7 separate regions of the Homo sapiens genome follow, and all the other regions are linked to region 1. Evidence: promoter capture Hi-C in 16 types of primary human blood cells and fetal thymus (Javierre and others, 2016). All regions are on one chromosome and are shown on one strand. The core of a region is centred on a gene start or on the middle of the fragment in contact, and the rest is flanking DNA. Distances in the headings are between cores, read along the strand shown.

Evidence for each region. The method cuts DNA at HindIII sites, captures the fragments that hold promoters and counts their contacts. A CHiCAGO score of 5 or more calls a contact.
Region 2: a fragment that was not itself captured here is called in contact with the fragment with the promoter of ZDHHC9 in region 1 in 16 of 17 cell types (neutrophils, activated CD4 T cells, non-activated CD4 T cells and 13 more); the score reaches 27.2 in neutrophils.
Region 3: a fragment that was not itself captured here is called in contact with the fragment with the promoter of ZDHHC9 in region 1 in 13 of 17 cell types (M0 macrophages, activated CD4 T cells, neutrophils and 10 more); the score reaches 15.8 in M0 macrophages.
Region 4: a fragment that was not itself captured here is called in contact with the fragment with the promoter of ZDHHC9 in region 1 in 16 of 17 cell types (activated CD4 T cells, total B cells, non-activated CD4 T cells and 13 more); the score reaches 36.7 in activated CD4 T cells.
Region 5: a contact is called between a fragment that was not itself captured here and the fragment with the promoter of ZDHHC9 in region 1, in 7 of 17 cell types (activated CD4 T cells, total B cells, naive B cells and 4 more). The highest score is 8.6, in activated CD4 T cells.
Region 6: a fragment that was not itself captured here is called in contact with the fragment with the promoter of ZDHHC9 in region 1 in 11 of 17 cell types (non-activated CD4 T cells, activated CD4 T cells, total B cells and 8 more); the score reaches 20.9 in non-activated CD4 T cells.
Region 7: a contact is called between a fragment that was not itself captured here and the fragment with the promoter of ZDHHC9 in region 1, in 2 of 17 cell types (non-activated CD4 T cells and activated CD4 T cells). The highest score is 7.8, in non-activated CD4 T cells.

What each region holds. Positions count from the first base shown.
Region 1 is chrX:129,842,214-129,846,210 of GRCh38, reverse strand. It overlaps ZDHHC9 (zDHHC palmitoyltransferase 9), which reads left to right and starts at 2,325. Exons shown (of 11, transcript NM_016032.4): 1 at 2,325-2,515; 2 at 2,885-2,952. The HindIII fragment of the contact is 4,624 bases long and covers 1,543-3,997 here.
Region 2 is chrX:129,619,418-129,623,414 of GRCh38, reverse strand. No RefSeq gene overlaps it. Among named protein-coding and RNA genes, the nearest start is that of APLN, 34 kb to the left of the region's middle. The HindIII fragment of the contact is 3,328 bases long and covers 293-3,620 here.
Region 3 is chrX:130,055,232-130,059,228 of GRCh38, reverse strand. It overlaps BCORL1 (BCL6 corepressor like 1), which reads right to left. Exons shown (of 14, transcript NM_001379451.1): 14 at 1,158-3,375. The coding sequence ends at 3,093. Among named protein-coding and RNA genes, the nearest start is that of ELF4, 53 kb to the left of the region's middle. The HindIII fragment of the contact is 3,020 bases long and covers 312-3,331 here.
Region 4 is chrX:129,637,501-129,641,497 of GRCh38, reverse strand. No RefSeq gene overlaps it. Among named protein-coding and RNA genes, the nearest start is that of APLN, 15 kb to the left of the region's middle. RefSeq lists a silencer at 3,727-3,896. The HindIII fragment of the contact is 2,728 bases long and covers 569-3,296 here.
Region 5 is chrX:130,032,474-130,036,470 of GRCh38, reverse strand. BCORL1 (BCL6 corepressor like 1) reads right to left here. Exons shown (of 14, transcript NM_001379451.1): 9 at 1,795-2,016. Among named protein-coding and RNA genes, the nearest start is that of BCORL1, 52 kb to the right of the region's middle. The HindIII fragment of the contact is 1,064 bases long and covers 1,740-2,803 here.
Region 6 is chrX:129,666,776-129,670,772 of GRCh38, reverse strand. No RefSeq gene overlaps it. Among named protein-coding and RNA genes, the nearest start is that of APLN, 14 kb to the right of the region's middle. The HindIII fragment of the contact is 3,694 bases long and covers 143-3,836 here.
Region 7 is chrX:130,011,202-130,015,198 of GRCh38, reverse strand. It overlaps BCORL1 (BCL6 corepressor like 1), which reads right to left. Exons shown (of 14, transcript NM_001379451.1): 3 at 2,531-2,621; 4 at 1-2,249. Among named protein-coding and RNA genes, the nearest start is that of BCORL1, 31 kb to the right of the region's middle. The HindIII fragment of the contact is 1,527 bases long and covers 533-2,059 here.

The DNA.
Region 1 (3,997 bases), core at 1,076-3,575:
GTTGTGTGTGTGTATTAAGACTTTAAGGATTATATAAAATGATGTAACTACATAGGAGGAAGTACTATGGGATGTTTGTCCACATAAATTTTCCTTATTTTTCTTTGAGTGTTGAGAATAAATAATAACAGATTGTAATAAAACAAGCCTGACTCACATAGCCACTTAGTCCGAGAGGGAATGTGACCCAGAGCAGGGAGGGACAGAGCTCAGGAATGTGTCACCATGACACATCGATTCCAGGACTCCTCAGGCTTCACCTGCACCTGAGCTATGGACAAAATATGTTTGAGTGCTACAGAGGCTTATTTTTCACTGCTCCATAGTCAGAAGGATGGCAGCTGGGGTGACCATACTATTCCTAAGGGCATCTGATATACATAGGCTTGGAAATCCACAGGGCTGATGAGGTTTAGGGAAGTTCTTCTCCCTCCCATACCAAGTGTGTGCAATACCAGCACCCTCCAGAATTCAAAGCGGGAGAATTGGAGGCAATGATACTGATCGTACACTTCATGAGGAATAAACTGTTGATCATAATCAGCATGAGTGCTAAGGAACAATGGAAGCTTTATAAAGACAAACCTTCCTTTGCAAGTTAATTACAACACATCTCAGAATTACCTAGTGTTTTTTAAATCCTTTAAGAATTTTGAAGGGTGCCATGAAAGTGTCAAATGTAATTATTATGTAGCTTTTTGTTTCATATTGTGTGGGACACATATACTGTAAAGGAAAAATAGTTCTTGACCATGTATGTGGTCCTTCAACTAACATACAACTGCCTTAGGAAGAGCTTTGGCAGTCTCTTCTGTACTAATTCCAAATACCAAATCTCTAAAACTTTGAAATTTTTATCACGCTTAGGAAAACCTAGGCTGGTAATGTAGGCATTCTCCTCCAATCTTCAACCTTTTCTCTTATCTCCTCTTACACTTGGAAAGGAGATGCCACCTTCAACCTTTTCTCATATTTCCTCTTATATTTGGAAGGCAGGAGCCATACTGGTGAAAACAGACCTAGTGTCTTTTAAAGTCACCCTATAGTATAATACTGTGGTTCTCAATTGTTTCCCCCCTTCAATCTCAAACTTTTTTTTTTTTTTTTTTAAGACAGGGTCTCTCTCTGTCGCCCAGGCTGGAGTGCAGTGGCATGATCTTGGCTCACTGCAACCTTCACCTCCTGGGTTCAAGTGATCCTCCTGCCTCAGCCTCCCTGGTAGCTGGGACTACAGGCGAGTCCCACCGCTCCCCGCTAACTTTTGTCTTTCTAGTAGAGACGGGTTTTGCCATGTTGGCCAGGCTGGTCTTGAACTCCTGACCTCAGGTGATCCACCTGCCTCGGCCTCCCAAAGTGCTGGGATTACAGGCGTGAGCCACCGCGCCCAGCCCAATCTCAAACTTTTAATGCATGCAACTCACTCGGATCAGTAGCAGTGGCTCATGGTGGCAGTAATGCAGAGCTGGGTGGCAGAAGGAAAAAATCAATCTGGTTGGTGGGTGGGAATTCTGCCTTGGATTCTCCCCTTAATCATCATAAGCTTTCCAAACCGAATAAAAATTTACAACCTTTTTGGCAATCTTTACTTCATTACCTACCTGGAAGAATTTATGTCCTCAGTGGAGTTTCTTTAACTCCATTAATGTCAATTAGTTGTTTTAGGTGCTGCAAAATGATAATACGTTCTTGGGGACATTTATCCTTTACAACATGCTTTTTATGCTTGTTTGTGTGTTTTGATTTGAAAGACTTAGAGATGCAGGCTAGGGTGACTGGGACAGATATGGGGTCCCTGGCTACTGAATGAGACTTGGGAGGCAGATGACTTGTTTTTATGCCGATAAAGAGTAAAATCTCAAGTTGCGGTTGATTTTAAAATGCAAGCAGGGCTGGAGAGGCCCATGGCAGACCTAGTTTGGGGTGAGCACCCGGATCTGTGAGCTAGTGTTGCTTCAGCATCTCACTGTGTGTGTGTGTGCGCGCGCGTGTGTGTGTGTGCGCGCGCGCGCGCGTGTGTGTAGGCTGGTTCCACCCTTTGCTGTCCCATCGGCACTACCCTTAACCTCCGTCTCTGCGTAACTATATTAATAGAAGGCAACACTTCACATACTGGCGCTCAGACCCCAAAGAGAGGCTGGCAGTGGCTTGGCAGGTGGGCATGCAGCAGGGAGATGGGTGGAGGAGTGGGCGGAGGCATCGTCGAGTGGCGTTAGGCAAAACCAATGGCAGTTCGGGATAGGGGCGGCCGGGGCGGAGGCGCCGAGGCCGATCGGCCAATAGAGGGCGAGCAACTACTGGAGCGACCTGGTGACGTGAGGAGCGTTCCATTTGGCCAGTGGTGGGCGGTTGCCACAGCTGGTTTAGGGCCCCGACCACTGGGGCCCCTTGTCAGGAGGAGACAGCCTCCCGGCCCGGGGAGGACAAGTCGCTGCCACCTTTGGCTGCCGACGTGATTCCCTGGGACGGTCCGTTTCCTGCCGTCAGCTGCCGGCCGAGTTGGGTCTCCGTGGTTCAGGTAACGAGGGGTGGGGGCGGGGGTCTCCTGGGCTCGGCTGCAGGGTGGGCTGCCTCCCCTTCCGCGGCGCCTGGAGGCGGGGACGTCGGCACCGCCCTTCTCAACTCGGCAGCCGCCGAGCCCCTGGCCCGGGGTGACTACACGTGGCGGGGCGTGTGTGAGTGTGTACGAGCGTGTGGCTGCGTGTGCGTGTGGATGTGGCGCGCGTCCCAACCTGCCTGGGGCGGTGGTCCGCGGCGTGGCGGAGTCAGGGCGGGCCTCGAGAGGCCGCGCCCGCGGCTCGGCCCCGGACTCCGGCCTCCGGCCTCCGGCCCCCCGCTGGGGAGCCGGTCGCTGCTTCCCGACGGATTTTGATCTTTGTTCTTCCAGGCCGGCTCCCCCTTCCTGGTCTCCCTTCTCCCGCTGGGCCGGTTTATCGGGAGGAGATTGTCTTCCAGGTTAGTTTTACACAAAGGACGGGTTCTCTGCACCTCTGGGCCCCCCTCCCCTTCCCCGAACCTTCTACCTTCTCGTTTCCCTGCTCCGCTCCTAGGCTGTTTTTGGACCTTTGCCCTCTCCAGCCCGCGAGTTGGCTGTTTCTCCCTCCGTCCGTCGGGCTGCAGGCTTCCGCCTCAGTCCTGCCAGCGTGGGGCATGTGGTGTCGGTAAATAGAGGCCACAACACCACACCTGAGCGGAGGAGAAGGGTAGCAGAGGCTGAGAAACTCTGGGCCTGGGAATTCAGGATGCTGAGTAGAGATGGTACTTAGGACATGTCCCAGAAAGCGCCCTTGTGACTTTTCTTAGCTGCTGCCATTCCCCACCCCCCAACCAGCCATCAGCAGTCACCAACCATTCCAGAATCTCTCCTGCTTAAGTCAGCCTTTCACCTACAGGTCTCTGATGTGGTTTCATTAAGATTCTCACAAATGTTAGGCTAGACCAGCCAGATTGTTTCATTTCCCGGACTCAGGAAGTTGCAGAGGGTTTGATGAGGGGAAATCTGTTTTGTGTAAATACAATGCACGTATGTGCACAGAGCGTCCAGAACCTCCTGGCCCTGCCAGAGGGTGACTTGTTCCCTGCTGTGATTCATATTCGAGTGGCTAATTGAAGAAAGAAGGTGAAGTGGAGGAAGGGAGGGAGGTTTTATAAGGACAGAAACTCTACTATTATTTTTAGAGTCCTTTTAATGATGTTGAAAGAACACTGTGGCATAGTGGAACATGCCCTTGACTGGAAGTTAGCAGTATCAGCATTGCTGCTGTGTGGTCCTGGATAAGTTATTTCCTCTCTCTGGTCCTCAGTTTACTCATTTACAAAACAAAGTATTAATAATTGGCACGATCACCTATAAAATCCTCTCTAGTTCCAAGGTTCTGTGATGATCAGATCATCAGCATTAGATTGGAAGCATAGAGGCTTATTTAAGAAGAAATACTAGCCCCTTTCCTTTTTTGAGAACCTTTTATCATACCTTCTTTTAGAGAACAAACACGAATTG
Region 2 (3,997 bases), core at 707-3,206, 220 kb after region 1:
GTGTGGAATGGGTAGAATTTGGAATGGAGGAGTATGGCTGTGTTTATGTAACTCTGCGGGTAGCTGTGTGCAATACTCAGGAGGGAGAGGGGGAAATACTTGGCTGGGGCCTTCAAGGTGAGTTCAAGACACAGAGGCCTAGGTACCCCCTCAGATTTCATCTTTGACCTGAGGTAAGTGTACTTGTAGTGCTAGCCTAGCCAGATTCTCCCACGCACCACAGCATCCCTTGAGGGGCCAGGAGGGCCGGGTGACTATTAGGTCAAGCATCTGAAGAGGTGAAGACGAAGCTTCAGGCATTTCCCCTCATGAGCCAAAGGAATGCCGGAGAAGCCCCAGAAGCCCCGAGAACAATGGGGAGTTGACAGCCCCTCTGAGGACTTGTGACGTGGGCCCTGAGGGGGGGCGCACAGCTGCCTGCCAGAACCTGGGGCAGGGGAGAGGGGTTGGCAAGGTTACAGAGGAGCCCCTGGAATCCTTGAAGGAGGAAGCCGGAAGCAGCTGGGGATGACACTGACAGGCATTTCCCGCCTCAGGATGCCCTCCTGCTTTCTTCACTGCCGCTGCAGCTGCAAAAGCAAAGCTGCAGCTTCTCTATGGCCTCAAAAGGCAGGTCTTGAGGTTGGGAGCTGTAGGGCCCCAGTCAGACCCCCTACTCCTTGCTTCCTTCCCTCTCTCTGAGGAAGGCAGGCAGCCCCCACCCGATTCACCCTGCCTAAAAGGCAGGGTACCTTTTAGGCCTAGGGAAAGCAGGGGGAGATTAAGGCCATTGTCTTTTTTTCTGTTTTTGTTTTTACAGACAGGGTCTCTCTCTGTCACCCAGAATGGAATGCAGTAGTGCGATCATGGCTCACTGCAGCCTCGACCTCCTGGTTCAAGCAATCCTCCTGCCTCAGCCTCCTGAGTAGCTGGGACTACAGGCCGGTGTCACCACACCCGGCTGATTTATTTTTTGTAGAGATGGGGGTCTTTCTATGTTGCCCAGGCTGGTCTTGAACTCCTGGTCTCAAGTAATCTTCCTGACTCAACCTTCCAAATTGGTGAGATTATAGATGTGAACTACTGTGCCAGCCAAAGACAACTGTCTGTAGCTCTTTCCCTGCCTGAACCCAGGCTTATGCTTCCTTTGCCAAAAGTAGGGCTGGTCCTGAGGGCATCTGGGCCTGGAAGGTGTACTTACCCTCTTGCTGTTTCACTGGGCCCACACCAGGGCGGGCTAACTGGGCATTGCTTAGCCTCCAAGTCTTCTATAGGTGCTTCAGCGAATAGCACCAGGCCCCAGGCAAATTGAGGCCTCTCTGTCTGGAGAATCTGTCTCACCTTAGTCCCCTGTTACATGTTTCCTCCATATTTTTTGCAGTGCAGCGCCCTCTAAGCATGCTCCCATTGACATAGGTTGTGATAATAACCTGTCCTCCAAATTTGTAGTAATCATGGCCACTCCCTTAGTGAACCTTCACGTCGCTCAAGATTTTAGCACAGGGAAGACAGGCTAAGGTTCCCAGCATAGAAGCAATAGCATCCTCTGCCCCCTTTGTTCTCCCATTTAAGAATATGGGTCAGAGGGAAAGTGACTTTATTCTAGGGATAACGCCTCCCTTATTTGTAATAAGAATAATCTTGAATCTAACCTCTTTTATGATGCAAAGTCACTTCTTTGCAAACTTTGATACTTTTTATTAGTAACACACCTTACAATTGATCTACCTCAACTCTGTTGTTAACAGAGATGGCCCCATCCAGAGCCTACTCTGGAATTCGATGGTATAAGAGGGTTTCCAACAAGTGGTTTTCCTGCAATTGCCCCAGCCGAGGTGGGGTGGTGGGGACTATGGGTCCCCACCAGATGGCAGGCAGCAAGGCCACCTCCTGGGCTGTGCACACAGCAGCAACAGCAGTAGTAATCAATGATAAGAACACACGTCAGGAAATATAGACACATGGAGGCCTTCAACATGAGAGAGGGAAAGGTGCTTACAGATCACATGGACCTTGCTGTCCAGAACCGTCACCATGAGCCACATGTGGCTATGGAGCACTTGAAACGTGGCTACCACAAAACAGAATGTTCTCCAAGGGTAAAACACACAATGGAATCTGAAGACTTTCTATGAAAAAAAAAAAAGAATGTAAAAGATCTCACTAATATTTTATATTGATTACATGTTAAAATGATAATATTTTGGATATACCAAATTAAATTAAAAATATACTATTAAATATACATAATTACAAAGGGACACGAGGAATCTTCCGGGAATGTTGCATGTGGTTCACCCTCTTGATTGTGGTGATGGTTTCAGGGAGGTCTACATATATCGAAACGTGTCAAATTGTACACTTTAGATATGAACACCTTATTATATGTAAATTGTATCTCAATAACACTGTTTAAAAATTCCTCAGTGGCTTCCCCGTGGCTACTCTAAAGGATAAAAATAACTAAGTTCTTCAGTTTATTTTTTTCAATGTGGCTACTAGAAAATTTAAAATTACATATTGCATTATTATCTATTGGACAGGGCTGGTCTAGTGATTCCAGTCCATTTTACAGATCATGAAACTAAGGTCCAGAGACAGGAAGGGCCTTGCTCATATATTGCTTAAGGGCTGGCACCAGAATGCACAGGGCAAGACTACCTATGTTGGTAAAAAATACTTAGATAAGCTCTGAAGAGTAGAAAGTGATACCCATCCCTGATTTAATACCCTTTATAGGTGCCAAGGCCTCAGGGGGCAGGGGAAGAATTTGGAGCAACTTCGGAAACCCTGGAGGGAAAGAGAGGAGCAGGGAGAAAAGGGGACAGAGGAGCCAGAGAGGTGTGGGAAGGCTGTCCACTGTGTGAGGTGACCACATCCACCTCCCAGGATTTCATCCCACCAAAGATCTTTAGTAGATTCCACTACTCACATTTTCTTGGTGGGAACTGAGAAAGGGTCTAGGTCTGGTGCTTTGGTCAACAGTGTGAAAGCAGAGACCAAGCTCAGAGCTGCAGAACGTGGGTGGTAAGAAGGCCATGAGGATATAACTCTTCCCTCTTCTTCCACTCTAAGGGAAGGTGGCTTAGAGTGGGAAAAGGAAGGTGACTTCAAGCTCAGTCTTTAAGCACTGGAGGACAATGGGTCTCACAGCACTTTAAGGGGTGCAGTAGCAACACTCACCCCAGGCCTGGATCAAGAAAAAGTAGCCATGCCCCTCTGACCAGACCCAGCCCAGACAATGCTGCCCATTTCCCAGAGGGCCTTGCTGAGCTTCACTGGCCAAACACTAAGCTCTAAGGCAACTGTTCATTCAAGGATTTCAATATTAATTCCTAATGCTTGGCAGAGTGCTTACTATGTACCAGATACTCTTCTAAGTGCCTTGCAAATAGTAACTCACTTAGAAATTCAAAAATATCTTGGGCTGGGGTCTTGACTTGCACTGTTCATGGCACAGGGGTAGAAGGGGGCTCAAAGCAATGTCATTTAGATCTCAAGGGGCATAGAGGGCCCTGATGACTCAGAGATCCACTCGCATGATCAAAATCGTAAAAGTTAAGAAAAATATAACCAGAATGACTATAGCTTTATTTCCCATCTCCCAACCCTTGATTCAACCAAAAAGAATTAAGGAAGCTTCTACTACAGGCAAAGCCAACATCTACCTCCATGCTATGTGCTATGATGTATACAAAAAAGTCATGGTCACTTGCAGCACACAGAGAAGTCATTTCAGCAAGAAGTAGCACCAGCAAAGAACAGAAATCAGATAATAGAGTAGTTAAAGGTATGTGGGGGTGCTGAGTCCTGCCTCAATGGATGATGGATCTGACTCAAGGCAGTGCTGGCTATGTCTAGAATCTTTGGCCAGGAAGGAAAGAAGGGAAAGCAAGCGGGCAGCATCTGGAGGCCCAAGTTCAGCAGCAACTGGGTAAGTCATATGAGAAGGGGACCAGCGGGTTGCATTTTGAGGGAAGGGAATGTGTAGGCTTTGGCTCTTAGTTCAAGATTGATC
Region 3 (3,997 bases), core at 572-3,071, 210 kb before region 1:
TCTTCTAGGATGTGTTCCCAGGGCCCTTGCCCATGCTTCTGAGCTCCCATAGCATCCTGGGACTAGTTGAATTCTTATACTCACCACATGGCTTTATAACCTATCAACATGTCAGATTTCTTGACTTAACTGCAAGTTCCAAGCACAGGATCGACCTGAATTCAGAACCACTGTGGGCTTGTTTGGGAATCTGACAAAGGTGGCTATTGCATAGGGCCTTGGGATCAGAAAGTGGGGAGAGGACGGCCAATGAGGAAGATTAATGCTATGGTTCAAAGAGGATGATGCTTGGACCTGGGTCGAGCCAAGCTTCTGAGGCTTGAGCAAAGACAGCAGCTTAGAGTTCACTCCTGAGGACGGCTGGACTCCAGCCAGCCAGACGCACAGATCCCTTCGCCTCTACACTCTCTAACAGGGCTCTCCAGACTCGAAAGCCACAGTGAGAAGCCCTAAGAGAATAGAGCTTCAAAGGGCCTCATCCCAGGCCTCTCGAACATCCTCTTCCTCTCAGTCACTGGTGCATTCTGGAACCAGCAATCACAAGAATCATAGCTTCTACCACTGTTTTTCAGAAGTGGGAGGAAAAACTGCAAAATCCAGGATGGGCATCTTGCCTTCATGGTAGCTCGGTGGCAGGAAAACAGAACCATGGAAGGCCTGCACCGTGGGTGGGGAGCACTGGCACAACAGTGAGGGCAGTGATGAGGCCATGCAGCCAGATGCCACCTCGGCAGGGTGGCCTAGGGCAAGCAGGGGACTTCCTTAAGGAGGCTTATTCCCACAGCCACCACAGAGAAGGCTACTTCCTCCAACCCTGCTACTCCTATGTAAACAAGGACTGCCCAGGCACCTGCTTCAACCCCAAACCAAAGCAACAGGAGCCAGATGCTCCATTTGCCCCCACTGGCCCCGCCCCCAGGATTTGCCCCTTTCTTTTTCTTTCCAGATCGTGACCCAATGTTCACTAGCCACTCCACCTTGCCTTTATTCATCGTACCCCTTGGGACCCACAGCTGCAAAGCAGGATGGCGGGGGCTCCCCATTTACTGAATCACAATGCCCACCTTCTGAAACCACCAAAAAGTCCCAAAGGGGAGGAGAGAAAAAGAGAGACGGGAGAGAAAAAGAGAGACGGGAGACAGAAGCCCTGACACAGGTTTTTCAGTATGCAAGTGTTTTTGACTCCACAGCCAGTTGCTTAAAATGAAACATAAAGGGCAGCCAGAATATACACCCAAATGCGAAAAAAGGAAAGGCAAACAGAACATGAAATAAACTACACAATACCAGGAACCCCAACAAAACCAACAAATTAAAGTCCAAAACCCCTCAACTTTATATATATATATGTATATATATATGTATTTTTTTTTCTTAAAAAGGGAAAACAACTGTTCAAAACCAACTGGGCAGTATGGTGGGGGTGGGGAGCAGTCCTACAGAAGGGGGCCGAGAACTTCCCCCCCAGGAACAAAGAACAAACACAATACAAAGAAAATAACCACCAATGCTCCCGCATGGCTCAGGAGCCTCTAGAGAACAGATTGTCCCATCCTCAAACTGGCTTTTTTTTTTTCCTTTTTTTTTTAATCTTTTTTTTTTCCATTTTCTTTTTTGTTGTTGTTGTTTTAGCACCTGTACAATAAAACTGTACCATCTCCAACCAGAGCCGGCCACGGCGAGGCCCTCCTGCCTTTGGATGGTACATACTCTACAAGGATTGTTCGGAAAAATAGCAATTGGTAGAAAAATAAGAGTGGGAGGGACAATGCCACAGAGGGGGCGGGGACAGGGAAGCAACCCAAGCTCCTCTCTCTCTCTCACTCGACAAACCCAGCGCTGGAGGCCCAGAGGCCAGGGGGAGGCCAGGTAGGGATACCACTCAGCCCCAGGCCCCCAGGCATGAGTGGAGCAAGGGCTGGAGACCACTTTCCTGCCCTTGCCTAGGAAACAGCTGACGCCTGGATTTCACATCCGGCAGTGAGTCCCAGAGCCCTCTGCAGATTCCCAAGGAGAATGAGGGGCTGAGGGAGGAGGTGGGAGGAGAGGAAGGAAAGGGGTGCTGTGAGTCTCAGAAGGGGCAGGGATGGGGGTGGCTGAGGGCTGGGAGGTGAGAGGCTCAGTATCTTGAGACAGGGAGGCCAGAACGGGGTGGGAGAGTGGAGGCAGGAACAAACTCGTATTGTGCACTCTGAGGGGGGCAGTGAAGAAGGCGTGAGGAGGGGGGCCACCCTCACCCCTCAGATCCCTTCTCCACGCTCCTTTATTAGAGTAACTTATTAACCCCTCACCTCACAATCCTCCCCTCCCTGTCAACACTAATCTCAAGATAGCGGGGCTGCTGCAAAGGGCGGGAATGGGTGGGTGGGGGAGCACCAAAGCCTCAGGATTTACCCCCAAGCCCCCAGCCCTGGGCCAGCAGCAACCAGCTTCGTTAGTCACAAGTCCATGTTCCCCCACCCCATTCCACCTCACCCCCTCCCCAGTGGGGGAAAAAAACACCAGGGAATAGCTTTGTCAGAGCTCATCAACAAAGAAAAAGAAAAGGAGGTACAGAAAGTCCCTCAATACAACAAGTTGTCTCAAATCGTCACAGTGATACAGACTTATCAGAAACCAATGAAACAATACAAATTAAATACTAATAAAATAAATACTACAGAAGACAGAAGAACACAGGGGAATGGAGTTGGGGGGCGCTCAGAGATCTGGGATTTTCTCATTTCTCCTCGGGACAGGCCAAGGCCATCCAGGGCCCAGGTTTGGTCTTGGTCATGAACAAGGAGGCCAGTCCAAGGGACCCCGGCGCCACCTCCCACCACCCCCGGGACCTCTTGTCCTCAGACATGGAGTTCAACTTTCCACCCCCATCAGCAACCACGATAACAATGACGACGACAGGGAGATGAGAACTAATTGTAACCAAAAAAACAAAAACAGTCCAGTCGCTAATGCTGGCATTGATAAGGCGGCTTCTTGTTGGTCCGTATTATTGCCTCATTCTGCAGTCTGGTGCTCGGTCGGGGAAAGACAAGGAGGTGGGGGAAGGGCGAACTCGGAAGGAGAAAGAAGAGGAGGGGCTGTTTTCCCGGTCAACTGTTGCAAGACTGGAATTCCACCTCGGACCCTAGGAGCCGAAGTAGGTCTGGCTCGTACCGCACCAGCTCCACAGTCTCAGAGGAGCCTGGGGGGGATCTGTCGTCCAAGCCTCCAGGCCTCTCGGCAGGGGTCAGCAGCTGACTGGAGGCCACCTGCCTGTAGAACTCGGCCTTGGGCATGGTGGTGATTTCAAAGTGCGGGAACCGGGCCTGAAAGATCCTCGAGGAAAGCTTCAGCCTCTTCAAGACATCGGAAAAGAGGAACCAGTTGCAGGGCCTGCAAAGGCAAGGATGGGAGTTATTGAAGGAGGCTGGAGGAAGCGGTGGGGGCACCGACCCAGAACACTCTGCAAAGCCCACAAAGGCTGCACGACCATCAATGTCTCCCATTATAACTCACTGCCAGTCTGGCTCCCCCGTCCCCTGCTAAACCACAGGCTCCTTGGGTATAGCTGAGGCAAATGTCTTCTCCTGTCCCCTGCAATGCCTGGCCCGGCTTTCAGCTAAATGGTGAGCACGCAATCAGTGACCACCTCTTCCAAAATAACACAAACAGGAGGCAAAGGGGCATTCTAGAACCTAAAACTCTTAGCAGGCTTCTTGGGGACTTAGCCTGCGCCCCTGTGACCTGGCATTTGCCATCTGCTGGGACCAGTCTTTCCTCCGACTCCCGCCCCTGCCAACCCTGGCTGCCTTCCCTTCTCCTGTTCTTACTCTTGCTTCCCTGGCCTCCTTGCTCTCCAAGATCTTCCCCAGCAGAGGGGGAGCCGTGGAGAAAGGCCTAAACTGCGGGTAATCCAAAAGGCATTTCTCTTTGGCTCTGGAATGCATTAGACAAGTTTTTTCTCCAGCAGCAGCACCATCGTTTCTGCAGGGCCAGAGCTCACATTACAGAAAGT
Region 4 (3,997 bases), core at 683-3,182, 200 kb after region 1:
GTCACTAGAAATTTCCGGTCTCCCAGATAACCTTTAGGGCCTCCCCAGGGACAGATTACGTCCTCGGCATTTTTCCTTGTAGAAGCTTAGCTTGGGCAGCAGCCCAGGAGGCCTCTCCAAAGGTGTTAAGTGCTCACCATTAGCACCTGATCTGTCTGGAATTGTGGAGCCAGGCACCTGTTCCAGCACACCTGCTTGGCCATTGGGGTTCCTTTCTGCACAAGGCCAGGGGCTCAGAAACGTGGGTTCCAGTCCTGAATCTGCTTCTACCCAGGGCTTGCTGGGTAGCTTAGCAAAGTCTTTCCTTGGCCCTTTCTGGGTCTCAGCCTCCTCACCTGCCCAGGACACCTGGGTGGGTAGATGTGAAGCACCTGCTTGTGACTAGGGATTTGTTGGGGTCCCAGCTAACAGTGGGGGGTGATTCAGGCTGCCCTCCAGAGGCAATTCAGGACCTGACCCAGGGACCTGTAGGGAGGAGCTCTGGGAGAAGAATTAGGCATATGGCAGGAAAATGGGAACCTAAGCCAGTGAGGAAGTCCACTGCTGGGTTACGTGGGTTGCACAAGCTTCCCATAACCCCAGGGCCTGCTGGAACCTCCATTCCATACTTCTCCCTTTGCACAAATTAAATGCTTTCTGATCTTCCCTGAATGTTAAAAAATTGGCACACTGCTGCAGAGCTAGCCTGGTGGTGTGAAACTTGGGGTTCTGAGCTCTGGATCCTAACCCCAGCTTGGTCAGTAACTGGCTGTGTGACTCCAGGCAGGTCTGTTCATCTATCAGGGGTCCTGGTTCTCCCTCATCTATTTTCATAGGATGACAATCTCTGCTTTCCCTACCTTAAACACACAGAATCATAGAAGGGCAGAGCTGACATGAGCCTGAGAGATCATTCAGTACCCTAAGCCCTGTTATTTTTACAAATGAAGAAAGTGGGACTCAGAAAGGATAAGTGAACGCTTAAGGAACATAGCTAGATAGTCCTAGCAAACTCATGTAGAGCGCTTCTCATGTGCCAAGCACTGTTTGAGGAACTTCACCTGTCCTGACTTAGTCAGTCCCCATCACAATCCCATTTTATAGCTGAGGAAACTGAGTCACTGAGAAGGTAAGCCATTAGTCTAAAGATCTTCTGTGGTATGTGCAAACGAACTGAGAGAAACAAGGTGGCATTGCTTTAAAGGAAGGCAAAGGCACTGCTGAAATGCCAAGCATTCCCTCCAGGGCTGCAGTCACCTCTCGTCTGTAGGGGAGGGGCTTCGCTTTGGCACCCTCAGTCCCAGGGCAACAGAACTGCTTGTGATTTGGGGGCTGTGAGAGGCCTGTTGGAAAGAGGGTGCCTCTTTTTCCATCTAGGCAGAGACATCTCTGGCTCCCTCCCCAGCAGGTGTAGGGATAGAGGCTGGTGACTTTGGCATACGTTATGGGGGGTTTCATCCCCCATGTCTCTAGGCTCCTGAGCTTTCTGGAAGCCTGGAGTTCCTCTCTCCTTTGGAAATTCCCAACTCCTCAGATGTGAGGGATATGGAAAGATAAGAGAGGATAAACAAAGCAGGGAGGAAAAAGGTCCCAGTGAGGAGTGCAGGGGGATGGAGGAGGGAATCTCACCACACAGCCCCTTCCACCTCCAGCACTGCAGAGACCTTCTGATCTGATTATCCTCTTTCATCCTTCCCTCTACTCTGGGCTACCCTCTAGCTCAGCTCCACAGCCTGCCCCACCCCCATTCCCACTCCCAAATTGCCTGTCAAGTTTTAGGTCCCATGCCTTGTGTAAGTTTCAAAAGGAGCTCCCCTTCTCTCAATCTATGCCCAAACTTTTAGAACCCAAGCCTATAAAGAGCTCTTTGGCCTACCCCTACCCCAAAACAATCAGCTAAAAAATGCCTACCCTTGGCCAGGCGTGGTGGCTCATGCCTGTAATCCCAGCAGTTTGGGAGGCCGAAGTGGGTGGATCATCTGAGGTCAGGAGTTCGAGACTATCCTGGCCAACATGGCAAAAACCCGTCTCTACAAAATACAAAAATTAGCTGCGTGTGGTGGTGGGCACCTGTAGTCCCAGCTACTCAGGAGGCTGAGGCGGGAGAATCCGTTGAACCTGGGAGGCGGAGGTTGCACCACTACACTCCAGCCTGGACGACAGAGCAAGACTCCATCTCAAACAAACAAGCAAAACAAACAACAGCAAAAGAAAAAAAAAAAACGCCTACTCTGTGCAGGACACCATGCAAGGGACAGTGGAGGAGGAACAGTGGAGAAAGACTTGGTCCTCACCTTTCCTCTGGGAGGCACCAGCGAAAGGTGTGTGGTGAGGGTGTGACATCCCTCATTAGCTGTTGTAGCCACAGCGCCCTCTGTACCACTCCCCCGCAACCCCAGGGATGTTCTCCTGGCCCTGAGCCTGCGCACCGGCCTCAGCAGGACCTGCGAGGGAGGGAGCTTCATACCCATCTTTTAGGAAGCAGAAGCAGGGAAAGCCTCAGCCTAAGTCACCCAAAACCCATTTCCAGTGCTCTTCTAGTTTCCCCAGACTTCCCTTCCCAGGTTCTCCACCTTCCTCCAATTCTCCGGGTCCTCCAACTGCCAGCCAAGGCTCCCCTCCCCCATGAATCCTCCCTGGATGCTCTCCTAGCCCCGATGGTCACCTGCAGGTGAGGCCAGAATTGGAACCCAGACTTCTGCCCGCCACCTTCAAAAGCCTTTGTGCTCGCCAACTGTACACCTCCTCACCAGACTAGGCATGGCCATAGCCACAATGGAGGTGACGATGCTGACAGTGATAATGAGGGAATGTAATGATCATACCTTCCAGCATGGGATGCGGAGACTTAAACATCCTGACTCCTCCAAGTTCCAAGCCTGGGTCAGTCACTTCACCTTTCTAGGCCTCAGCTTTACCTTTTCTAAAATGGAAGTAAGAATCCCTGGCTCCCTCTCGGGCTTCTAGTGACTGAAGTTTCTGAAGTTAAAATGTTTGGTACAGTAGAGAGTGCTGTGTGTGTAACGGGGAAAAAACCCCATCGTTCTCAGCGGGTACCATGAAGACCACCCTGTTTGCATGTGAAAGTGCTTTTTGATCTGTAAAAGAGCTATGGGAATTCATTTCTCAGCATTCGCTGAATGTTTATTGAGGGCCTACTTTGTACCACATTCCTTAATACCTGGAGAGGGAAACAGATGTTATTCAAAAATCACAACCGAATGTCTAACCAGGAACTGTGGCAAGGGCCCTGGAGGCGAAAAACAGGCCTCTAGGAAGTTTATCACTGAGTGCACGATCTGGGGTCAGAGAAAGCTTCCTGGAGGTGAAGTGGGAGCTGACACCTCAGGAGTGAGTAGGGGTTAAGCTGGAGAAAGGAGGTCTCAGCAGAGGGAGCACAGGGCTTGTGTCCAAAGCACCAAGGTGGGAGGAAGCAGATGTGATTTATTGTTAAACCCATTTCACAGACAACGAAGCAGGCCCTGAGAGAGGCTGTGACTTGCAGAATGAGAGATTCCACTGAACTCCTGTGTGCTGGCTGATTCCCTCTGTGGCTCTAGGCTGGGCAAGCAGGATGTACTATGGTCACTAAGACATCCTCTTCTGATAACTTGCCCCAGACTCTATCAATTCACCAGCTGAATATGAGGGGCTGAGAATTCCTCACCCACAGGAGTGGCTGGCTACATGCATCTGGGTCAGCTTGATGGCCGGACACTCTGGAAACTTCTTATATGTTTCCCTTTCTTTGCAGTCGGCCTCTCTTTCTTCTCCAAGCCTGCTTATTCTTTGGGGGAAACCCAGTGTGTCATGAGAGGCTGCCCCCTGCTGGCTGAGTCCTGGAACTGCAGGGACTTCTTCAGGCTTGCGTCAAGTCTAGGCACAGGCCATTTTAAGAAAGTTCCCGAGGTCATCTCCTCTTTCCTGTTCTGCAGGAGGTGTGAGAACGAGCAAACGCCAAAGTGTGTGTAGAGGAGTGGCTGACTGGCGTTCATCAAAGACGACTTTTTTAATGGGG
Region 5 (3,997 bases), core at 1,022-3,521, 190 kb before region 1:
TAGCCAACATGGCAAAACCCCCTCTCTACTAAAAATACAAAAATTAGCCCAGTGTGATGGCAGGTGCCTGTAATCCCAGCCACTCAGGAGGCTGAGGCAGGAGAATCCCTTGAACCCAGGAGGTGGAGGCTGCAGTGAGCCGAGATTGCACCGTTGCACTCCAGCCTAGGTGACAGAGCAAGACTCCATCTCCAAAAAAAAAAAAAAAGGATAATCCAATACTGCCATTCATCCACACTTTAATGACTGCCTTCCTTGGATTGAGATGATGCTAGGACTACAGGTGGGACACCAGGGACTTGAAGCACCCTAGCTAGCATGGGCTGAAGCTGGGTGAATGAGGTGAGGAGGGGAGAGGCTGGCAGCATTAATGGCTGCCTGGCTTTCCAAACAATGGATCCCATAGCTGCACCATTGCCAGTCCTCTCTGGGGCACTGGGGAGATGGGCCACTCCACCTTTCTGTCTGACAGCTCACAGGCTAGCTGGCTAGAGCGGCTGTGTGTGCAGCCTGTGTCAGGGGTGCTGCTGGCTGTATATAGAAACTGTCAAGCTCCTTTACCCGGGAGAAAGCCCGAGGCTTCCCACCCTCCTCACCAGTGCAGATGTCTGCCTCTTCCCCCAGGCCCAAAAGGGCTCCTTCCACCCTCCCTGACAGGCTGCCTTAGTGCTCCAGCCCTGTCCCATTGGCCCCTCCAATGGTTTCCTGTTGGCTGGTTTTGCCCAGGGTACAAGACAATTAAATTAACCTTGACGGCAGGGATTGGTCTTGATTTTTGTTTTAGGTCTCCCTCGGCAGCTATCCAGGCACGCACACTAGGTGCTCATGAAAGATGGGCTGCTTGCCAGTGAGACACTGTCACGTCAGCTCCCCAGAGCTGACCAGTCTGGCTGGGAGTGTGGCTGGTGTGAAACAACTCAGGTATAGGGATGGAAAGCCTTAAAACCAAAGGCACACTCTGTAACTAACCCAGCAACTCCACTGCTAGGAGCATACCCTGAGGAAATAATCCATATGGTAGGCAAAGATACACACTCAATAAAAAGTGGGGAACAATGGAAACGTCCAAGGTGTAACTGAATTATGGTGAATGAGTCAGTCTTCCACCTACCCTGGCACTTGGGAATCAAAAGACCTTGGTTTGAATTCAGACTCATATGCGTAGTAGTTGAGTGATCTTAGACATATCAGTAACACTGCAAAGCCTCGATTTTCTCACCTATAAAATGGGGATAATAAATCTACTCCATCGGCTTACTGTGAGATTAAATGATACAAAGTAATCAGGCTCTTCACATGACAAAAGAAGTGCTCAATAAATGCCAGCTTCCTTTCTTGCCTTCTTTCTAATCTATAGGGTAGTAGTATAAGGTGGGGTTAGCTCAGCCTCGCCCCTCAAACATGATCCTGGCCCCTCTGCGAGAGGCGAAAATGAGGGGAAGCTGGAGGAGGAGATGAAGAGTGAGCAATAAATCACCCCTTGTTCCTTTCTGAGTTGGGAAACCACCATACAGAGAAATTTAAGACAACGTGGATATCCAAAAATTGCGTTCCTGGTCTAGGAATATACTGCATGATACCATTTCAATTGCATTCATCCCAAATTGACATTCAAGCAAGTTTGCATTCTCACACGCTGACATCCAAGTGATGAGGGGCAAGGCAGCCCCAGGGCAATCTGGGGTGTAGAGGGAGGCCAGCCTGGGTTCAAGCACCAGAAGAGCCCATGGAGAAAAGCTTCTTCATAGATGCTCAGACCAACGGCGCCCTGTGGTCAGTCGAAAACTCCCTTACCTTATAGCCAAGACGCGCCGCCCTCTGCAGGAGGGTCTCACCAGCATTTTTGTTCACTATGAGCCGACGTGCCTCTGGGGGGATCTGCCGGGCTGTAGGTGACTCTGAGGCCTCCTCTGAGCTGGCACTTCGGGACTTAGAGGGTGTACATGGTTCTGTGGGTTTCACTGGGGTGGGAGATTTGGGAGATCGTGTCTTCTGCTGGCTCCAACGACCTTTGCCCTGGAAAGCAGAGATGCAGTCCTAGGTCAGGTCAGGCCAGGCAGCTTATCCATCCACCAGGGTCATCACTGCCCTCAGTGGCCAAGGCCATCTCACCTTATCTGTGTCCATGCTGTACTTTGCTTACACTACCCTAAATGGCCGAGACTACTGTCAGGTTTGAGGCCAGACGCTGGGCCAGGCGCTAACCATGTGAAGTCTCTCCAGGATCAACACAGGTTCCCATGAGTTTGTAGCCGGTGGGGAGATATGAAGAGGTTCAAATGCTCAACCCCATAAACCAAGGAATGCCACAGGGATTGTAAATCAGAGATTGAGGGGATATCCTAGCTTCTCTCAAGACTCTGCATGCCTTCTTTACCTGCCTCAATCACCATTTATTGAGGTTTTTATAAGTCCTATCTGTAAATAGGCAGAAGCAAACTCTGAGAGTAAAGAGAAATGAGACAGCTATCTTTTTTTTTTCTTTTTTTGAGACCGAGTCTCACTTTGTCACTGAGGCTGGAGTGCAGTGGTGTGATCTCTGCTCACTGCAACCTCTGCCTCCCAGGTTCAAGGGATTCTCCTCCCTCAGCCTCCTGAGTAGCTGGGATTACAGGTATGCGCCACCATGCCCAGCTAATTTTTGCATTTTTAGTAGAGAGGGGTTTCGCCACATTGGCCAGTCTGGTCTCGAACTCCTGATCTCAAGTGATCCGCCTGCCTCGGCCTCCCAAAGTGCTGGGATTACAGGCATGAGCCACCATGCCCGGCCGGCTATCTTTGACTAGTCACAGCTGCTAAAGCTTCACACTTGTAGCAAAAACCTTCCTTCCACATCCAGTCCTCACAGAATGTTCCCATCTTCCATCACACTGTGTCCCCATATCATACTCAGACTCCCCTGGGGTGGTAGAAAGATCTAAGGCAGACCTGGGCTTGAACCTTGCCTCTGCCATCCCCTAGCTAGAAGACCTGGGGCAAGGCCCTCCCTCTCTGAGCCCCACTTTCTTCCTTGCAGGGTCTTTGAGATAATGAACTACAAAGGCTCCAGAACTGTGAGCAGGGTAGGTGCTCACAAAACACTAGGAGAGGCCGGGAGCGGTGGCTCACGCCTATAATCCCAGCAGTTTGGGAGGCTAAGGCAGGCAGATCAGTTGAGGACAGGAGTTCAAGACCAGCCTGGCCAACACAGTGAAACCCAGCCTCTACTAAAAATACAAAAAATCAGCTGGGCGTGGTGGTACACGCCTATAGTTCCAGCTACTCAGGAGGCTGAGGCATGAGAATCACTTGAGCCCGGGAGGGGGAGGTTGCAGTATGCCAAGATTGCGGCACTGCGCTCCAGCCTGGGTGATGGAGTGAGACTCTGTTACAAAAAAAAAAAAAAAGAGAGAAGAAAAGAAAAAAAATTGCCGGGCATGGTGGCTCACACCTGTAATCCCAGCACTTTGGAAGGCTGAAGCGGGTGGATCACCAGATGTCAGGAGTTCGAGATTAGCCTGGCCAATATGGTGAAACCCCATCTCTACTAAAAGTACAAAAAATTAGCCGGGAGTGGTGCCAGGTACCTGTAATCCCAGCTATTCGAAAGGCTGAGGCAGGAGAATTACTTGAACCTGGGAGGCAGAGGTTGCAGTGAGCCCAGATAGAGCCACTGCACTCCAGCTTGGGCAACAAGAGTGAAACTCCATTACAAATAAATAAATAAATAAATAAATAAATAAATAAATAAATAAATAGAAGAGATTCTCGACCTGGAGGTGATGCTATAATTGGATGAAGCTTTGGGGGGCACTGGGAGAGGTGGCATACTTTGCATGTGGGAGGGACAGGAATCACTGGGGGAGGCCAGAGGGCAGACTGTGGGAGTCAGCCTCTAAGATGGCCCCAGTGATCCCCTGATCTTCATGCTCTTATGCACCTTCCTCCTACAGTGAGTAGGGCTGACCTATGTAACCAACAGGAGACTGCAGAAATGACAGTAGGTGTCTTCTGAGGC
Region 6 (3,997 bases), core at 740-3,239, 180 kb after region 1:
GTATAATAATAAAAAAAAGAAACTAGAAAGAGATAAAGAAATTAAACCCAAAGTAGAAGAAAGAAAATAATAAAAATCAAAGCAGAAATTAAAGAAATAGAAAAGAAACAAACAATAGAGAAAACGAATTAAGCCAAAAGCTTAGAGTTGAAAGTTCTTAGAGAACATCTGAAGTTCTTAGAGATAATCAATAAAATTGATATATTTTTAGCCAGGCTAATCAGGAAAAGAAGAAAGAAGACACAAATTACCAGTTTGAAGAATGACAGGGGTGACATAACTACAGATTCTCCAAATATTAAAAGAATACTAAGGGAATATTATGAACAACTTTTTGCCAGTAAATTTGACAACTTAGATGAAATGGAAAATTTTTTGAAAGACACAAAACACCTAAACTCACTCAGGAAGAACAGGCACTATGAATAGCCTTCTATTTAAAAAATGACTTTGTGGCTAAAAACCTTTCTACAAATATAACTTCAGGGTCAGATGACTTTATTGGTAAATTCTACAAAATATTTTAAGCAGAAATAATACCAATTTTATACAAACTGTTCCAGAAAATTGAAAAGGAAGAAATATTTCCCTTTTCATTTTAGCTATGTTTATTACTAGCATTACCCTGATAATAAAAAAGGAAAAAGATGTTATGAGAAAACTACAGAGCAGTATCCCTTATAAACATCTATGCTAAAATTGTAGCAAATCAAATCTAACAATATAGAAATAGGAGGATACACCCACGATCAAGTGGGGTTTATCCCAGCAAGGCAAAGTCGGCTTAACATTTGAAAATCAAGCAATGTAATTTGCCACATTAATAAACAAAAGGAGAGAAAAAAACCATAGGATTATCTCAGTAGATGCAGAAAAAGCACTTGACAAAATCCAACATCCTTTTTAAGAAAAACTCTCAACAAACTAGGAATAGAAGGAAACAATCTCAACTTGAGGAAGTGTATTATGAAAAACCCACAGTTAACATGTAACGGTTGACTACTGAATTCTTTCCCCCTAAGATCAGGAGATAGACAAAAAATGTCTGCCCTTATTCGATATTTTACTGGAAGTTCTAGCCAGTGCAATGAGGCAAGAAAATGAAATAAGAGGCATCTAGATAAAAAAGGAAGAAGTAAAACAGTAAAACTGTCTTTATTTGTAGATAACATGATCATGTATATAGAAAATCTAGAAGGATCTACAAGAAATCTACTAGAACTAATACATGACATTAGCAAGGTTTCTGGGTACAAAATTAATATATATAAGTCAACTTTATTTCTATATGCTAGCAACAAACAATTGGAAACTGAAATTTAGAAACAATACTGTTTACAATTCAATGAGAGAAAGAATAGTCTTTTCAACAAATGGTGCTGGGACAAGTGGATATCCACATGCAAAACAATGAAGTTGATCTCCTTTCCTACATCACACATAAAAATGTACTCAAAATAGAGCATAGACCTAAACGTGAGGTCAAACTATAAAAGTCTTAGAACATAGGTATAAATCTGTGTGCTCTTAGATTAGTTGTTTCTTAGATATAACACCAAAAGCACCAAGGAAAATACAGATAAATTTCACTTCATCAAAATGAAGAACTTTTGTGCATCAAAGAACACTATTAAGAAAGTGAAAAAGAAAAAAGACAACCCATGGAATAAGAGAAAAAATTACAAATCATATATCTGATAAGAGCCTAGTATCCAAAACATGTAATGAACTCTTACAACTCAACAATAAAAAGACAACCCAATCAAAAAGTGGGCAAAGGCTCATTTCTCCAAAGATACACAAAAGACCAACAAGCACATAAAACATCATTAGTCATAAGGGAAATGAAAATCAAAACCACAATGAAATACCTCTTCACACACACTAGAATGGCTATAATAAAAACAAAAACAGAAATAAGTGTTTGGGTAGGATATAGAGAAATTGGAACCCTCATACATTGCTGGTGGGAATGGAAAGTGGTACTGTTGCTATGGAAAACAGTTTAGCAGTTCTTCAAATGGTTAAACATGGAGTTGTCATATGGCCCAAGTACATATTTGTAGGTATATTCCTGAGAGAATTGAAGACATACATCCACACAAAAATATGTACACAAATGTTCATAGAGCATTATTCATAATAGTCAAAAATAAAAACAACCCAAATATCCATCAACTGATAAATGGATAGATAAAATGTGGCATATCCAAACAATTGGATATGATTTGGCAGTAAAAGGGGATAAATTTCTCATACATGCCACAACATGGATGAACCTTGAAAGCATTATGCTAGTGAAAGAAGCCAGACACAAAAGGCCAACATTGTATGACTCCATTCATACGAATGTTCAGAAAAGGCAAATCTATAGGGACAGAAAGAAGGTTATTGGTTGCCAGGGGATGGAAGGGTAGGGGAATGGGAAGTGACTGGTAATGGATATGGAGTTTCCTTCTGGGATAATAAAAATGTTCTAATATTAGATTATGGTGATGGTTGCACAACTCTGTAACTATACTAAAAACCATTGAATTGTACACTTTAAACTGGTGAATTGTATGGTATGTGAATTATATCTCAATAAAGTTGTTAAAATAATTCAATACTAAGAAAACCAACCAATAAAAAATGGACTAAATATTTGAACAGACAATTCACCAAATAAGATATCTGGATGGCAAATAAACACATATAAAGATGCTTTCCTCATTAGCCATTAAGGAGATAAAAATTAAAACCACAGTGAGATACCACTACAGATCTATTCGAATGGCTAAAGTTAAAAAGACTGACTGAAGTACTATTCCAATTATGTGAGGTAGTAGAGTAGTTACAGTCATAGAGACAGAAAGTAGAATGGTGGTTGCCAGGGGCTGGGGAAGGCGCAAATGGAAAGTTAATGTTTAATGGGTACAGTGTTTCAGTTTGGAAAGGTGAAAAAGGTGTGGAGATGGATGGTGGTAATGGTTGCAGAGCAATGTGAATATACTTAATGCTGACAAAATATAAACTTAACAACAGTTAAAATTTGTTATGTGTAATTACCTACAATTAAAAAATATGTAAATGAAGTCTTCTTAAAAAGGTCTAAATGGTAAATTTTGTTATATATACCTTTCACCACAATAAAGAAAACAAACAAAAGACTGACCACACCAAGTGTTGGTGAGGATATGGAGGAACTGGAATTCTCATACACTACTGGTGAGAATGTTAAATGGTATGACCATTTTGAAAAATGGTTTGGTAGTGTTATAAAAGTTAAACAGACATCTACCATATGGCTTAGCATTCCACTCCTAGGTATTTTCCCAAGGGAAATGAAAGTCTTTGTCCATACAGAGACTTGTATATGAATATTCATAGCAGTTTTATTGGCAATAGCCAACATCTAGAAAAAAAAAACCATCCATGTGCATCAACACATGAATGAATAAACAAAATATGGTGGAAACCACTCAGCCATTCAAAAGTAATGACCTGCTGATACACAAAACACTGTTAATACATACAACAGCAGGAATAAATCCCAAAATAATTTTTCTGTGTGAAAGAAGCCAGCAAAAACAGAGTACGTATTGTGTTATTCTGTTTATTAAAAATTCTAGAAAATGCAAACTATATATTAACAAGTAAACCCTCCCTCCAGCCCCTCCCCTCTCCTCCATCCCCAGGTGACTGCTTGAAAGCATTATCCCCAAGTGATTGCTTGGAGATGGAGCAGAGGGGAGGGGCTGGATGGAGAGTTTACAAAGAGGCAGAAGGAAACTGTAGGGATTGATGAAAACTTGATAGTGGTGATGGTTTCATGAGAGTATGTATATGTAAAAGCTTAGCAAATTGTACACTTTTGTACACTGCATGAAACTTGTGCAGGTATTGTATGTCAATTATACCTCTATAGCGCTATAAACAAAAAAGGAGGGTGTCTTTGAACAGATAAACTTCAAGGTCCTTTCCAGCTTCAATTCTGTGGTAACTATTAGAGAAAATT
Region 7 (3,997 bases), core at 47-2,546, 170 kb before region 1:
CCCGTGGGTTTCCACAAAGAGAGTTCCTTGGTTTGGCACCCTGGCAGCCCAGGGGCAATGCGGGCTGGAGTATATCGTTTCACTGTGCTTGGCTGTCCCTCAGCACCAGCCTGGCTGCCCTTTTTGCCACACGTGGCACCAGTGCCCTTAGGCTCTCCTTGATCAATGATGGAGATGGGCTCCTGCTTGGGGAGATGGCGGGGGTCACGGTTGAGGCCCAGGTTGGGGTCTTTGTTCAGCAGCAGGGATGCAGGCACTGGGTTGGCCACTCCCACGTAGGTGCCAGGAATGGTGCTGATCAGTGCAGTTGAGTTCTTCACCCAGGTGCTCGGGTCCCCATTCCTCACGATCTCGGGAAAGATGACAAAGGGCGAGGAAGTGGAGCCCAGGCAGGAGGTGACATTGCCACCGGCAGCCTGGGTTGTGCGCTGAGACCTAGACAGGACTGTGGAGAGGAGGGCCTTGCTGCTGGTGTGCACGGGGGTCAACACAGGCATGGGGGGTGTCTTGCGCTGGTTCGGCAATGGAAGCTTCTGGCGGTTGGACTTGGAGGACAGATCAAGGGGCATCTCGCTGCACTCAGGTGGAGAGGCCATCTCTCGTTCCAGCTGTGGCGGTGACTTAAGAGGAGAGAAGGTAACGGAAGTCCCTTCTGTTTGCTGCTCGGTGCCACTGGGCATCTTGGCGGGGTGCGGTGGGGCTGAGCTCCCACTGGGGGCTGGCAGCAGAGGCTGTGGAGTTGGAAGCACCTTGGCAGAAGCAGTAACAAGGGAGGTATCTGCCAAAGGCCCAGGGACCCCATCGGGTGCAGGCTGGGTGGTGGTGCTACCGGATGGGGAAGTGCAGGGGAGCCTGTTCACCTCCAGAGATACCAGCTTGGAATCCGAAGTCAGAGGCCGGGCCACAGAAAATGCATACGGGTAAGAACGGAGCTCGGGGGAGGCTAGCACGCCTGGGAGACACCTGTCCTGCAGGTAGGACGGCAGGACAGGGAGCGTAAGAGTGGAGGAAACCCCTAGAGTGGTTGGCAGTGTGGCCACACTGAGTGGCTGCCCACAGCTTGGAGGCGGGATATATACCAGCGGCTGGCTCGGGGTCAGCACTGTCCCTGGCTGAAAGGACAGGGGGACTTTTTGCATAGCTGGTGCCTGAGCTGCAGGAAAGCACACTCTACTCAAACTGAAGGAGGCCGGGATGGGTGCAGAGGTGGGAATGGCAGCTGGCGTGGCAGCAGGCATGGGTGTAGGGGCTGGAGTAAAGATGGGGGCTGGGGTGGGTGCAGGCACCGGTGTAGGAGCAAAGGCGGGGATGAGGGTGGGGGTAGAAGGTGGGCCGGAAGATGGGGTTGGAGTGGGCATGGGCACAGACGGAGGGGCAGGGGCCGCTGGAGGCGTGGATGCTGGCATGGGAGCCAGAACCGGAGTGGGGACGGGAGCGAGAACCAAGGTCGGAGCTGAAGGGGGCACAGGAGCCTGGATGAGAGCCAAGGGAGGAGCTGAAACTGGGACTGAAAGCGGGGCAGGAGCTGGAGCCGACAAGGGAACCGGGCCTGAAGGGGGAGCAGAAGCTGGCACAGGCACCAAGACTGAGGCCGAAACAGAAAGGGGGTTCGAGTCAGAGATGAGCGTGGGCACTGACGGTGGCGCTGGAGCCAGAGCCGGGACAGGTGCTAAGGGAGGGGAAGGAGCTGGAACCGAAGTGGCAACTTGGACTGGAACAAGCCCTGAATGGGGGACTGGGGCAGGGACGGAGAGGGGAACCTGGAATGCATCTGGAACAGAGTGGGGCACAGAGGCCGAACCGGGAGCAGGGGGACAGATAGGGGCTGGCAGAGGACTGAAGTTAGTGGTAACCAGGGGCAGGGTCCCCTCCACAGGGACTCCAGTTCCCAGAGTTGCCAAAATGAAAGTATTCTTCTCTCCAACACCTTGCCGAGAGTCCAAAGCCTTTACTCCGGCGGGTGAGCAGTCAACCTGTTTGCTCATTTGGGTGTTGAGTGGAGTCCAGGAGCAGTCGGCCCTGCTGTTGCTGGCCTCGGCGCTGTCAGATGCGGGAAGCTTGAGCCCGTCTCCTGGGCTGCTCAGGGGCACCAAGAGGCCCTCAGCCTCTGCCACGTTCCCAGCGTAGTCCATTTTTGGCTGGGGATCGTCAGGCTTGTCTTCTGACTTGTGCCCAAGTTTTTCTGTAGCACTGCCATCTGGGTCTGCCCCCCGGGCATTGCTGCCACTTCCAACTGCCGTGAGCTCCACCTGCAACGACAGGATAGCATGCACATCTCAGCCAGCTCCCTGCAGATGGTGCAAGTGTCCTGAGGCCCGAGAGGCAACTGCTGGTCTTCTCTGCAACTCGACCAACCAGGTCTCGGAAGACGCAGAGGGCAGCCAGCCAATTTGTGTCCCACCAATACCAACTCCTGGGAGAGACCCTGTCCCTTCCTGCCCACTTCCTGGGATGGCAGGCTGGGCACACCTCCCAGGCAGCTCAGCTCCATCCTTTGGTGGACAGCACGTGGCTCCATAAAGCCTCTTACCTTGGAAAAACTGCTGCTGACACAAAACTCCTGAGATCCAAAGTGCTGGCAGTCGCCTGTCGTTGACTCCTCATCAGAAAGAGGTGCTCTTCTAGCATGGAAGATACAACCAGAGAAGGGACATGAGGCCCAGGATTTGAGCCAACACCACCTTCCCCAGAATGCCTCCTGCCTGCCTGGGTCCCCATAAAACCTTCCTACCTCACTTCCTGTAGTAACTTGTGAGGGGGATTACAAGGAACTGGGGGTTCTTGGTTACAAAGCGGAGGCGCCACACCTAGCTTTGCAAGTCCCTACCAGAGCCCAGTCTGACTAGACCCCCCTCTTTGGACTGTTTACCCTGTTTTCTAGGGCTCTTGCCAGGAGTGTGGACACCCTAGCACTTTTACCTTTTCCCTGGAGCTTACCTGCCAAAATGACCATCCAGGATGTACAGGGCATTGCTCAAAGGGGAGACATGAGAACCACTGAATGCCTCAAAAGGCATGCAAAACCCATTTTTCTTTTAAATACAATCTTATTTTAAGTCTCTAAGGGCAGCTGGCTGAAAGTGTCATATGGGTAATCCTCTTCTAAAACAAATAAACCCCTGTTGTGTTTTCAGGTCTAAATCTGAATCGTCACCTATTCACCTCCTGTCTTGCCTAGAGCAGAGACATGTTTATTAGCACTGGTGATGATACCACTTGGAGGCCACCAGGTCACTGGGTGCTGAGAGGCATTTTAAGAATACTACTTTTTTCCCTCCAGGAGACACTGCCCCCTTTTTTCTAGAGTTCTAGGCAACACCCTCCCTTCTACCCTCCTTCTATCCTTGCCTACATCCTATCTCCTGCCAGCACCCCTCCCTGCCCCCCCATCAGTCTCCCAGCACCACTTTGTTCTCTCCTGTCCGAAAAGCCTCAGACCCCAAATTCAGGTTCATATGTCCCAGAGAAAAGGGCTCAAGGCCAGAGAGCTGGGTCCCAAAGGAGGAAAACTCAAATGCATCTCCCCCTGTTTAAAGTCTTCTCCAAATTTCAGGTAAGCATCATAGAAAATTGTACATCCTGACAAAAAAAAAAAGGGAGAGGGTGGCATCAGACTGCCTCCCTCCCCTGGTATTTTAAGTACAGCAAGAACTATTAGGCCAGGCATGGTGGCTCACACCTGTAATCCCAGCACTTTGGGAGGCCAGCTGAGGTGGGTGCATCACTGAGGTCAGGAGTTCAATATCAGCCTGGCCATCATGGTAAAACTCCATATCTACTAAAAAATACAAAAATTAGCCAGGCGTGATGGCAGGCACCTGTAATCCCAGCTACTTGGGAGGCTGAGGCAGGAGAATCGCTTGAGTCTGGGAGGCGGAGGTTGCAGTGAGCCGAGATCCCACCACTGCACTTCAACCTGGGCGACAGAGTGAGACCCTGTCTCAAAACAACAACAACAACAACCAAAAAAAACTATTGCCCCCTGCCCTTGGGAGCT